2 separate regions of the Homo sapiens genome follow, and region 2 is linked to region 1. The links are contacts of gene promoters, found by promoter capture Hi-C in blood cells and fetal thymus (Javierre and others, 2016). All regions are on one chromosome and are shown on one strand. The core of a region is centred on a gene start or on the middle of the fragment in contact, and the rest is flanking DNA. Distances in the headings are between cores, read along the strand shown. Region 1 holds the start of USO1 (USO1 vesicle transport factor). Region 2 has its middle 13 kb from the start of ART3.

Evidence for each region. Contacts are between HindIII fragments. The CHiCAGO score rates a contact against its expected background, and 5 or more counts as called.
Region 2: a contact is called between a fragment that was not itself captured here and the fragment with the promoter of USO1 in region 1, in 1 of 17 cell types (naive B cells). The highest score is 5.1, in naive B cells.

What each region holds. Positions count from the first base shown.
Region 1 is chr4:75,722,505-75,728,070 of GRCh38, reverse strand. USO1 (USO1 vesicle transport factor) reads right to left here and starts at 3,494. Exons shown (of 24, transcript NM_003715.4): 1 at 3,186-3,494. The coding sequence starts at 3,251. It also overlaps a transcript of G3BP2 not described here. RefSeq lists silencers at 3,026-3,203, 3,538-3,707 and enhancers at 3,288-3,367, 2,464-3,383, 3,384-4,304. The HindIII fragment of the contact is 5,085 bases long and covers 1-4,993 here.
Region 2 is chr4:76,058,954-76,064,396 of GRCh38, reverse strand. It overlaps a transcript of ART3 not described here. Among named protein-coding and RNA genes, the nearest start is that of ART3, 13 kb to the left of the region's middle. The HindIII fragment of the contact is 935 bases long and covers 1,218-2,152 here.

The sequences.
Region 1 (5,566 bases), core at 2,245-4,744:
GTGATTTCTTTCAAATAAAACTATAATTAATTCATTTCACAAGTATTTACTGGGCATCTACTACTGTGGAAAAACAAAGATTAAAATACATTATGAACCCTGCCCTAAAGACACTTTAAGAGTCTAGAAGGAATAAGATATATGCACACTGTAGTTAAAATGTAAAGGTAGCTCAGAAAGGAAAAAGCATCTGAAACGTGCTGGGGGAAAGTACAGATTAGGGGAGGCGCTGATGATGAATTTAAATAACAGGTCTAATTCAGACAAAGAAAAGAGCCCTTCCATTGGAAAAAAGATGTTAGAAAAAGCAAGAAAGATGGAAAGCCACCATGAAAAAAATTTAATTTTGCAGAAATGGAAAAAACTACAAAATAATAAATGATAATATAGAAGCTAGGGGTTCCAAGCTCTGGTAACTCAAATATCCTGGCCAGACTAAATCATCAATTAAAACATCTAAAATTGTATATACACTCCACTGATGCTCTATAAATACTTCTAAATTAGTAATCCATGACCCCTTTTACCTGTTGTACTTCCTGGTGGAACGAAATAGTGAAACAAATTTTATTCATACTGTACCTCAGAATAATAATTTTCAGAAGGCAAATTGCTTTATTGTGGAGGTGATTAAAAAGAAAAAATAGAAGACAAATTACTTTTCCAATTTTAAATGTACATACTCAAAGTTAGGCAAGAACAAGAAAGGACCCTTTCAGTTTATATATACAACATACGCAAGTGATACTCAAGTTTCACTTTGAAATTGTGATATAAAAACTATGTTGTTCCATCCACAGTGGCAAGATCAAAATGTTCTAGCTCCAACTCTTCAACCTTGTGCAAGCTACTTTAGTGCTCTGTGACTATAAAATGAAGAGGCTCTATCTGGGACTTTCTAGCTTTAAAATCCTATACACTGTGAATTCTATTCCATCTTTTCTACAGAAGTCACTGTGACAAGGCCAATAATAACAAAAACAGGAAAGGGTATTCTTCGTTCAACCCACACATAGTAAAAATTACCTCTCATTATACATCTACTAAGTGCCAGGCTCTTTCTACTTATTTCACTTAATCTTCATTACATCCTAAAAAGCAGGCATTTTCCTCATTTTACTTAGAGGGTATTAGCTATCTCTTACATATCCAATCCAATCAGGGGTGGAAAGCCAGGATTCAAATCAAAGTCTAACTCCACAAAGCAAGCTGTAATAAACCATATTTCATAACCTGGTGCCACAAACACAAATATCAGACAAAAAAGTGGTGGGCTGTGATTATGGTATGACTCTGGTAATCTAGACAGAACATGATCTTCTAGTAGGGTAGCTCAGGCTGCCTTGTTGCCAAGTGGGAATGGATGAGTGAAGCCAAATGTGTGCGTGTGTTACAGTGAGAGACAGAAAAGTGATTTTCAAATGAAAGAAACAGATTTACCGGCTTTCATCTTATGCTTTAAACAATTCTAACCAGACCTGCGCAGTTATTTTTTTTTTTTTTGAGATGGAGTCTCTTCATGCTGCCCAGGCTAGTCTCAAACTCCTGGGCTCAAGCGATCCTCCTGGCTTAGCATCCCCTTAGCTGGGATTATAGGCCTGTGTCACTGCGACTAGCTGCAGTTAATTTTAGTAATACTATATAAAGTTCCCAAAAAGTATTGAAATACAGGCATGAGCAATAAAGTGAAGGCTTTGAAGTAAGGTACCTCTTGGTTGAATCCTGGCTCTATTATTAGCAGTGTGACATTGGTCAAGTTACTTCACCCCTTTTTTTTTTTTTTTTTTTTGAGACAGAGTTTCGCTCTTGTTGCCCAGGCTAGAGTGCAATGGCACGATCTCTGCTCACCGTAACCTCCGCCTCCCGAGTTCAAGCGATTCTCCTGCCTCAGCCTTCCGAGTGGCTGGGATTACAGGCATGTGCCACCACGGCCGGCTAATTCTGTATTTTTAGTAGAGACGGGGTTTCTCCATGTTGGTCAGGCTGGTCTCGAACTCCCGACCTCAGGTGATCCGCCGGCCTCAGCCTCCCAAAGTGCTGGGATTAGAGGCGTGAGCCACCGCGTCCGGCCTACTTCACCCCTCTCAGTCTCATTTTTTGACTTTTAAGGTGAGAATACTCTCACCTATCTTGCAGGGTAGTTAACGATTAAAGCATAATGTGGAATATAAAGAGCTCAGCACAGAACCTAGCACAAGGTAAGAGCCTGACAAATGAAAGCTACTATATTATCCCTCAGGATCCCATTAACAAAGTTAGCCATTAAAGTGTTATACTTAGTCTCTTTTATGTAGATCTAAAATTCTTCTCAAATAAAAAGTTTATTTCAAAAAGGCATACACCCTCGATTCCATTAAACACTAACCAAACTTCAAAATAAGTGTATTCTAAACCTAGAATCTAAGCAACTATTAAATAATGTTTTCAGCGGCTAACCATTTTTTTTTTTTTTTAAATAACGCCGCAAATCATGTCATTAGGAGTTCAGGCAGAAAGCGGTGGACGTGTCCCCAAAGCAGTTTGAGCGCTTAAGATCCCTACTACGTTCAAGGTAGCATTTGCCAAATGATATATATTTGGGTGAGCCCGAAAAGCCGGATCTGAACAAATAACACCAGGCAGAACGACCGCTCTTCCAGTTGATGGGACAGGAGCAGGTGGATTTGTCCTTCAAAGAATATCGTTTTATTCTTAGCCAAATGCTCTCACCAACAGCTGGGTTTTAAACCTTCTCGCAGTTTTCCCCAACGCCCCAGTTTCAGACTGCGAGGGAGGGAGCAGGACTTCAGGCTCCTCTCGGCCAGTGCAGACGAGCGAAAGAGAAAGAGGGAGGGGCCCACGGCCCCGAGGGGCGTGGGAGGCAGTTCGGGCCAGCTCGGCCGCGCATCCGTCCCTTCCCGTGCGGTACCACCTGCGGACCACTCTCCTAGCCCGAGCTTCAGGGCCTACAGAGCTGCGGGGCGCGGCCGCCGTCAGTCCGGCCGAACGGCAGCAATGGGGACTGAGCTGGGGGCGTGATTGAATAACTCTGGGATTTCAGGAGCGGAAGGAGGGCAAAGGGGGAGGCGGCATGTGGATGCCCCCTCCATGGTGGGACGCTGGAGGTGACCTTCGGGTCTCCGAGTGCTCCGTCCCCGTCCCTGCCCGGACCCCTTCCCAAGTCCCAGACCCGCTGCTCCTCTCACCGTCTCGGCTTCTGTGTGCTGGGGTCCGGCACTCTGACCCCCCATTACCCCGCGGAGGAAATTCATCTTGCCGTTCAGCCACCAGGTTTACCGGCCCCTCCGGAAAAAAAAGAAGACAACTTCCCCCGCCCTCCGCAGGGCCTGGGCCCCAATCCCGCACTCTACACACTCCTACTGCTGCCACCACCGCCTCCAACTCGGCGGCCACTCCAGCCCTCTAAGCCCGGAAACAGCCGCCAGCAGCGGCCAAGATGCGCATGCGCGGGGACGTGGCATTACGTGGCGGCTCGAAGGTTGAAGGCAAAAGGGGAGCGGAGGCGAGAGGAACCTCTTAGCTAGGTTCCGCCGAAGCCCCACCCACTGCGCAGACCCCGCCTCCCACCGCAGGGGCACGCCTCCTACCCCCACCCTTCGCGGATTGATCCTGCTGGCCGCAGCCACCCACGTGGTGGAAGCCCGGCCCTGCAGGCTGGAGAGGATTTGATTAGACTACGCGTTTCGACTTGCAGGGTGTTTAATCGTCGCCAAGCGGGACTTACTGCAAGCTATCAAATCTGAGGTCTTATTTTGTTGAGTCGAAAGTGAAATTTTCCTTTGGCCAACGTGACAGGTAAGGCTTCCTGGCGCCTGAGAGGGTTCGCTTGGTTTGACGGTTTACTGGTACCAGCATTGTGGCTTTCTGATCCCGGTAAATTGCATTTCTTTACAGGGCTTTGTTTGGTGGTAAAAAGGGTTACTAGACACCCCTCATTCCACTGCCACTGGAGGGCGCATTTCTCAGCTCTTGCTCTTCAAACCTGCTGAAAGGAATTCCTAGATCTAAACACCAGGTACACCTCTATTTTCAAGTGTCGTCAGGAGGAAACCCATCAAACCCTACATTTAGCTTACTAGAGAAATACATTGTTCTGCTGTGTCAGTTTGGCGAGTAACATAATGTTTCGTTATTAACTCTCAACCCCTGTGTTTTCAGTTTTTTTTTTTTTAACATGAAAAATTGTCATTTTCTCTAATTGGTATGCCTGTTCCTTTGGCAGTGAGGTTGTCAGTACACATGCTTCTGGAATAGTCTTGTAAATTTCTTGAGGCTAAAAAGCACAGGTCTAGTTAGCTAACTGACTCATGCACCTCTCCCCTTGGATTCCCCACAGGTCTCAGATTCAGCATTTAAAATTGAACTCGTCATCTTTCCCTGCCTCCCTTAAAGAAAAAAAGTCAATATGCTGCTTCTACTGTGTGCGTGCCGTGCTCAGTAGTACCACTGTCCAAATAATTGCCTAAGCTAGACAGAGGAAGCTGGGAAGAATCTTAGACTCTGGCTTTCCACCCACACATGTCCAATCAATAGTCATGTCCTATCATTTCTATTTATAGAATATTTCTCAAATAGGTGTTCTGCTCTCCATCCTCTGTGCCTGTGACATAGATTATGTTCTTCTCATCATTTCTCATTGAGATGACAGCAACAGCCTCCTAATTAGTTTGTCTGCATTCAGCCCTGGCTTCCTTCCAGTCCAATCTCCAGTCCATCCTTGGGTGAGACTAACAACAACAAAACATCTGTTCATGTCATTCCTCTTAAAATCCTCCAGTTGTTCCCCATTCTGTCCAGAATAAAGTGCAAACTCCTTAGTTTGTCATACAGGCCTGTTATGATTTAGCTCCTGCCTACTTTTTCAGCTCCTGCCTCCCCCACATACTCTGGGCATTTTTCTCAGACCTGGATATGCCCTTCCCTTCCTTTCTCTTCATCAAGCAAACTCCTGCTAATTCCTTAAGGCTCAACTCTGACATCATTCTTGAAAGCTTTCCCTAAAATGTAGGTACACATCTATATGTTAGCACTTTGCAGTTATTGATACTGTATATGGTGTACATTGAATAAATGCTTGCTAAACCAAACTGTTAAGGGCAGGACTATGTTATTCATTTTATATCTCTGTTGCTTACCACTGTCTCATAAAAGGTGATATTGATGGATAAATGAATAAATTATTGAAAGAATATATGAATATTATACTAAGAGGAGGTTCCCTTTTTTTAATCTGTAAAGTGAAATTGTAGGGAAGACATCATAAGCTATGTGTTTCCTAGTGCCAACATTTTAAGCCTGGGCAACTTGGAGAATGGTGGGGTCATACTGCCAAAAATACTGTGCGCTAAGCATTGTCCTCTGCTTTAAAGCTATACACTTGACATTTTACCGTAGACATTTTCCATGGGAGCATTTTGTTGCAGCCTAAAAAAAGTAACCAGTAAATTACTCAGCATTTTTGTTACTAAGAAATGCATGCAAAGAACTTCACTTAAGCCCCTAAGCCTCACCCCTCCCTGAACCTCACTTCACCTTGTCCCTGAAACTCACTCTACCCCATCATCAG
Region 2 (5,443 bases), core at 436-2,935, 340 kb before region 1:
ATATTCCTTTCCCATACTCCACTAATCCCTTAAAATCATGCCTCACTTTTGTCTCTTTTGTATTTAGATCACTAAAATTTTTTATTTTTCCTTTAGTTTCTGAGTGCCTTTTTTGGTGGTGATGGTAGTGGTGATCATGGTGGTTGTTGGGAAAAGTAGTATTTGTCTCCATCGTGTACCTAATGTGCTTCTATTTCCAATTCTATTGCTTGGAATCCATTTTGTTCTTATTCTTGAAGACCAGTTCTAACCTGGACAAACTGCTCTCCAGGCCAACAACTAGGAGACTAGAAAATCTTTCAATTGAATCCCTGGGTACTTTTTCCATTTCTTGTACTCTACAGTGGTTTTATTTTTTTAATTTATTTTTTGTCTCATGCTACTGCATCTACAGCTTTTTGCTTCATATTTATCTTTGTTTTGTAGGAATATATTCTGAAATTATTTCCTTAAAAAGGATGCATGGAAGATAAACATTTTCAGTGCTTTCATTTTTGAAATGTGAATCTGATGAACAGTTGGCTAGTATATAATTCTAGGTTCAAAATAATTTTTCCTCAGAACTTTGTATAATACATGAAACTCTAAAAGATTTGTATAAATTCAATGTTTAGTGCCAAAATTATTCTATTTTTCACTATCATTGTTTTAAACTAATTTTCAAGTGCAGGCTTTATATTACTTTTAGCTTTCTTGTTTTTATGTTCTCCGAGTCTCTGTCAAATAATGATATATAAATACATGACTACTTAAATACCTATTGGGAAATTCTCATCAAAGGAATATATATGGCACAACCGGAGAGACCTTATTGTAAGTCCATTTTCTAATTTTTTCAACAAAATTCAGGATTTTTTCCTAGTTTCTTTTTGTGAATCTTGTCTTCCTAACTACAGATTATAAGCTTCTTTTAATCTCATTTTAAACTCCTCATTTCTCTCCCCATTACTCCCAGCTTAAAATGGTATAAGGTACAGAGAATATATTCAAGACCTAGTTAAGAGAGATTTGGTCAGCAATGCTTTTAACTCTTCCTGAATTATGTCTTGAATCTAGTATATGCTTATTTATAATTGTAACAAGTTTTTGCAATGACTCATTCCTTCATTACATTTAATCTACAAATGTTTACTGAGCACCTACTATAGGCCAAGCACTATTCTAGGTGTTGGGATGTTGTCAGTGAACAAAATAAAAATCCCTGCCTCCAGGAAGCTTCCGTCCATGAAGTAGTAGAGAAAAAGAAGGCAGGCAATAAACAATGAAAATAATAAATTAGTAATTACGCAGTGAAAGAGATAAAGAATGAAGAAGTGTGAAGTGTGGGGAGTTGGGGCACACTATAGTATTAAATAGAGTGGTCAAGGTAGGCCTCACTGAGAGAGTGAAATTTAGCAAAAACCTGAAGGAGGTAAGGGACTTAAACAAGTGATTAGCTGTAGGAAAGCATTCCTTACAGAGAGAATAGCTAGAAGTGTATTGTTCAATGGCCACTAGCCACCACATGTAGCTACTGAGCATTTGAAATGTGACTTGGGGCCGGGCTCGGTGGCTCACACTTGTAATCCCAGCACTTTGGGAGGCTGAGGTGGGCGGATCACGAGGTCAGGAGATCAAGACCATCCTGGCTAACACAATGAAACCCCATCTCTACTAAAAATACAAAAAATTAGCCAGGCATGGTGGCAGGCACCTGTAGTCCCAGCTACTCGGGAGGCTGAGGCAGAAGAATGGCGTGAACCCGAGAGGCGGAGCTTGCCGTGAGCCGAGATCCCACCACTGCACTCCAGTCTGGGCAACAGAGCGAGACTCTGTCTCAAAAAAAAAAAAAAAAAAAGATTTATTTTTCTTTCACATAAGGATGAGATGCTCTGAGATGTTTAAATCTCTGCAAAATGGTGGATCATTTTTAAATGCTTAGCAATAACGATAATTTATAACAACTAATAGCTAGCCTTTATTAACTACTTAATTACACACAAGGCACTGTATATTTTATATTGACTAAACTGTATAGTTCTCATAATAAACCTAAAAAAATAGTTATTAACTTTTTTCCCAAGGTTGGAAACCCCCATGAAGTAACAATCATTAGAACATAAGTCAAATTTAAAAGAAAACTAAAGATACTTAATGCTTTTTAATGTAAGCTTACTCTCTCTGGAACAGGATATCTTAGCTTTTAAAAAATAGGAAGCAAAACTAAAAGGGGTAATCCCTCTTGCAGATAAGAACAGTGGATGATTACATGAGTAGGTCTGGTAGCTTTCTTATACGAGACCATCATCCATAATGACTTTCTCTTCTGAAGTAACTCTTTAGTGAGTTCCTGTCTATTCCTACTCCAAATACCAAACTCAAATGCTCTCTTCTTAGCATTTACATAAAACTAACAAAAGGCTACCCTCAAACTATTCCAGAAACATTGCCATCTAAAATTGTCCTTTAGGGAAAGGGACTCTAGAAATTCGTGTAAAAATCCACTTCAGTGGTTCACAATTCTTATTCTTTGGCATTCTTCTCATTTACTCTTTAAACCAACATTTACTGAGCCCCTAACTAAAGTGACAATTCAGTTGAAGACTAAAGAAGTAGGAGTTAGGGAAACAAAGAAAGGAGGGCCTTCCAGTCAGATAAAAAAGTATGTACAAGGCACTGATGGCATACATAGCACATGTTCAAGAAAATGCAAGCCATTTAATACAGCTGGACAGCATGATATGTTTTATGGAACACAAAGAGTTAAAAAGTTGGGGAGGAAAGAGGAATCAGATCATAAAGAGCGCCTTGTGTGTAATGCTTAGAAATTGGAACTTGACTGAAATGGCAATGGGAAACCATGAAGTAGAGGAGAAACATAATCTGATTGAAAAGGTCACTTTCATAGAACAGAAGAATAAATTACCAAGACATTTTAACAAGAGGCAGGAAGATGTGTTGGGAGATTACCTGAGAAATCCAAGTGAGAAGTGGTGGGAGCTTGACCTAAATCAGTGGTAATAAACCCCAAATCAAAATGATTTGGTATCAATTATATAGCATAGGGATGTGTAGAGAAATAGTGTATTTTGAGAAAAGGAGTTTAAACTGACCCCCAGATTTCTGGCTAAGGAGTCTGAATGGTTAGGAGCAACATCAAGATAAAAAATATGAGCAGGTTTTAGGGAAAAGAGTTTTATCTCAATGTAATGAGTTTGAGGTTCCAGCCAGATACTGTAGAGAAGCTATCCAATAGGCAACTGACTAGTTCAGAGAAAGATCTGAGATAGTCATTTAAATTTGAGAGTCATTAGCTGCAATAGTTTGTTACTGTTGCTGTGCAAACTATCATGACTTAGTGGCTTAAAATAATACACATTTCTTATCTTAAAGTTCCTAGATCAGAAGCCTAACATAGATCTCTGTAGGCTAAAATCAAAGTGTTGGCAGGGCTAAGTTACTTTCTGAGAGTCTAAAAGAGAATCAATTTCTTTGCTCATTCGGGTTGTTAGCAGAATGCAGTTTCTTGAAGACTTAAGATTGAGACCTGTGTTTCCTTGTTGACTGTCAGCTGAGGGCTATTCACAGACTCCAGAGGCCACCCACATTCCTTGGTTTGTGGTCCACTTTCTCCATCTTCAAAGCCAATAACAGCAAGTGGAATCTCTCATAATCAAATACCTCCTGCCTCTTCCACTGCATCTCTCTAACTGACTGCTCTGTCTTCCTCTTCCTCTTTTAAGTGCCCATGTTATTACAGTGGGTCCACCCAATGTATATATGTATTTTGAGGTCCATAATATAAGTCCAGTGTTCCTTTTGCCATGTAATATAACATATTCACAGATTCCAGGAATTAGGGCATGGAAATCTTTGGGGAATAATTATTCTGCCTACCATGTTAGCCAATAGGTGTGTAGGCTTGCAGATAGAGAGCATAATACCCTAGAGAACACTAGCATTTAGGTGCAGAGAGAGACAAGATTTCAAGAAGGAGATTGAGAAGGAGAATAAGAAGCCTCAAGAAAAGAGATTTTCATGAGAGAGAAAACAGTTGATTGTCACAGCCAAAATAAATCAAACTGATATGAAATAAGGGTTCTTTGGGCTTGGTTATATATTACCAATGTACTTATGATATCAGTAACTTAATCAGTAACTTATGATTCCACAATATTCTACAACAGTATTATGTTCCAAAATAGAAAAACATCTGACATCAGTAGGTTAAGAAGAAAATAGGACAAAGGCTTGAATTTGGGGTATCTTACATGTTAATTAGACTTTATAAACCAGGAACTACGGAAATGAGTTTTTTAAGACCTGACTCCATGCAAGGCAACAGGATGAGATGGAAGATAAATTAGACAAGGTTCCTTGCCCTGGAGGGACCTCTCAGACTGAACAATCACCCTTACCATTTGACATCTATAGGAAAGTAGGTTCTGATTTCCTAACCAGTGACTCACAAACAGATTTCTTCCATATAAACCCACAACATCCTCTTTGCTAATTCTATGTGTTAGTGTTACATATCTAACTTATATTTGGCCAGTGGTTTATTCTGTATTCTTCATCTCTGTGAGACATGTACAAACTTGATAGTTCTCCAACTTGTGTTTATAAAGTTTGCCTGCTTTTTCTCTTAAGTAAATCCTCCTGTGCTTAATGCTACTAAACTTTACTAATTCATTTCTCTAAATTGTCAGAGTCACTTGTTACTTTAATTTAGTTGTCCATACAAATTGGGATTGCCTGAATATGTAATGAGAGTACTGAAAGGACATTTCTTTTTCCTTTAAGCTACCTACAAGGAGGAAAATTAGTTGAGAACATATTTAAGAAAAAAGCCACTTAATTACAGTTTTTTTTAGTTAAAGAAGAAAGGTTCAATTCACAGCCTTTTAAATGCAAGACCAAGAAATAAACTTTTAAAAATAAATTTAACAGATTTTTTAAAAAATTCAATTCCATATTATAGTCAATTAAAAAGTAAGGATAGAGAAAAGGACTGGAGATGCAAATAAAGCTCAGGAAAAAAAAAAGAAAAAAAAACAAGAGAAAATAACGAGAAGACAGCAAGAAAACAAAATTGATCTTTGGACCTTGCAAAGCAAATATCTGCTATTAGATTCTTCCCCTGCCCCACCAATCCAAAGGCAACCAAAAAGTCTGTTAAATTAAGTTTAGCCTAAAGCTGTCTCTTTACATATTTTAAGTTCAGTCTAAAGGTTTCTCCATACATTGTGAACTATAACCTAAAGGTTTCTCCATACATTGTGAACTATAACCTAAAGGTTTCTTCATACACAGTGAACTGTAACCTAACTGGATGTGTAAACAGACTGTAATCTACTCTTGTGCCAATCACCAAGTTTCAGCCAATCAAGGACAGCCAGCTGTTCAACCTATGCTCAGATAAGGCAAACTTCAAGCTGTAATCAATCCAGCTGTTTCCGTACCT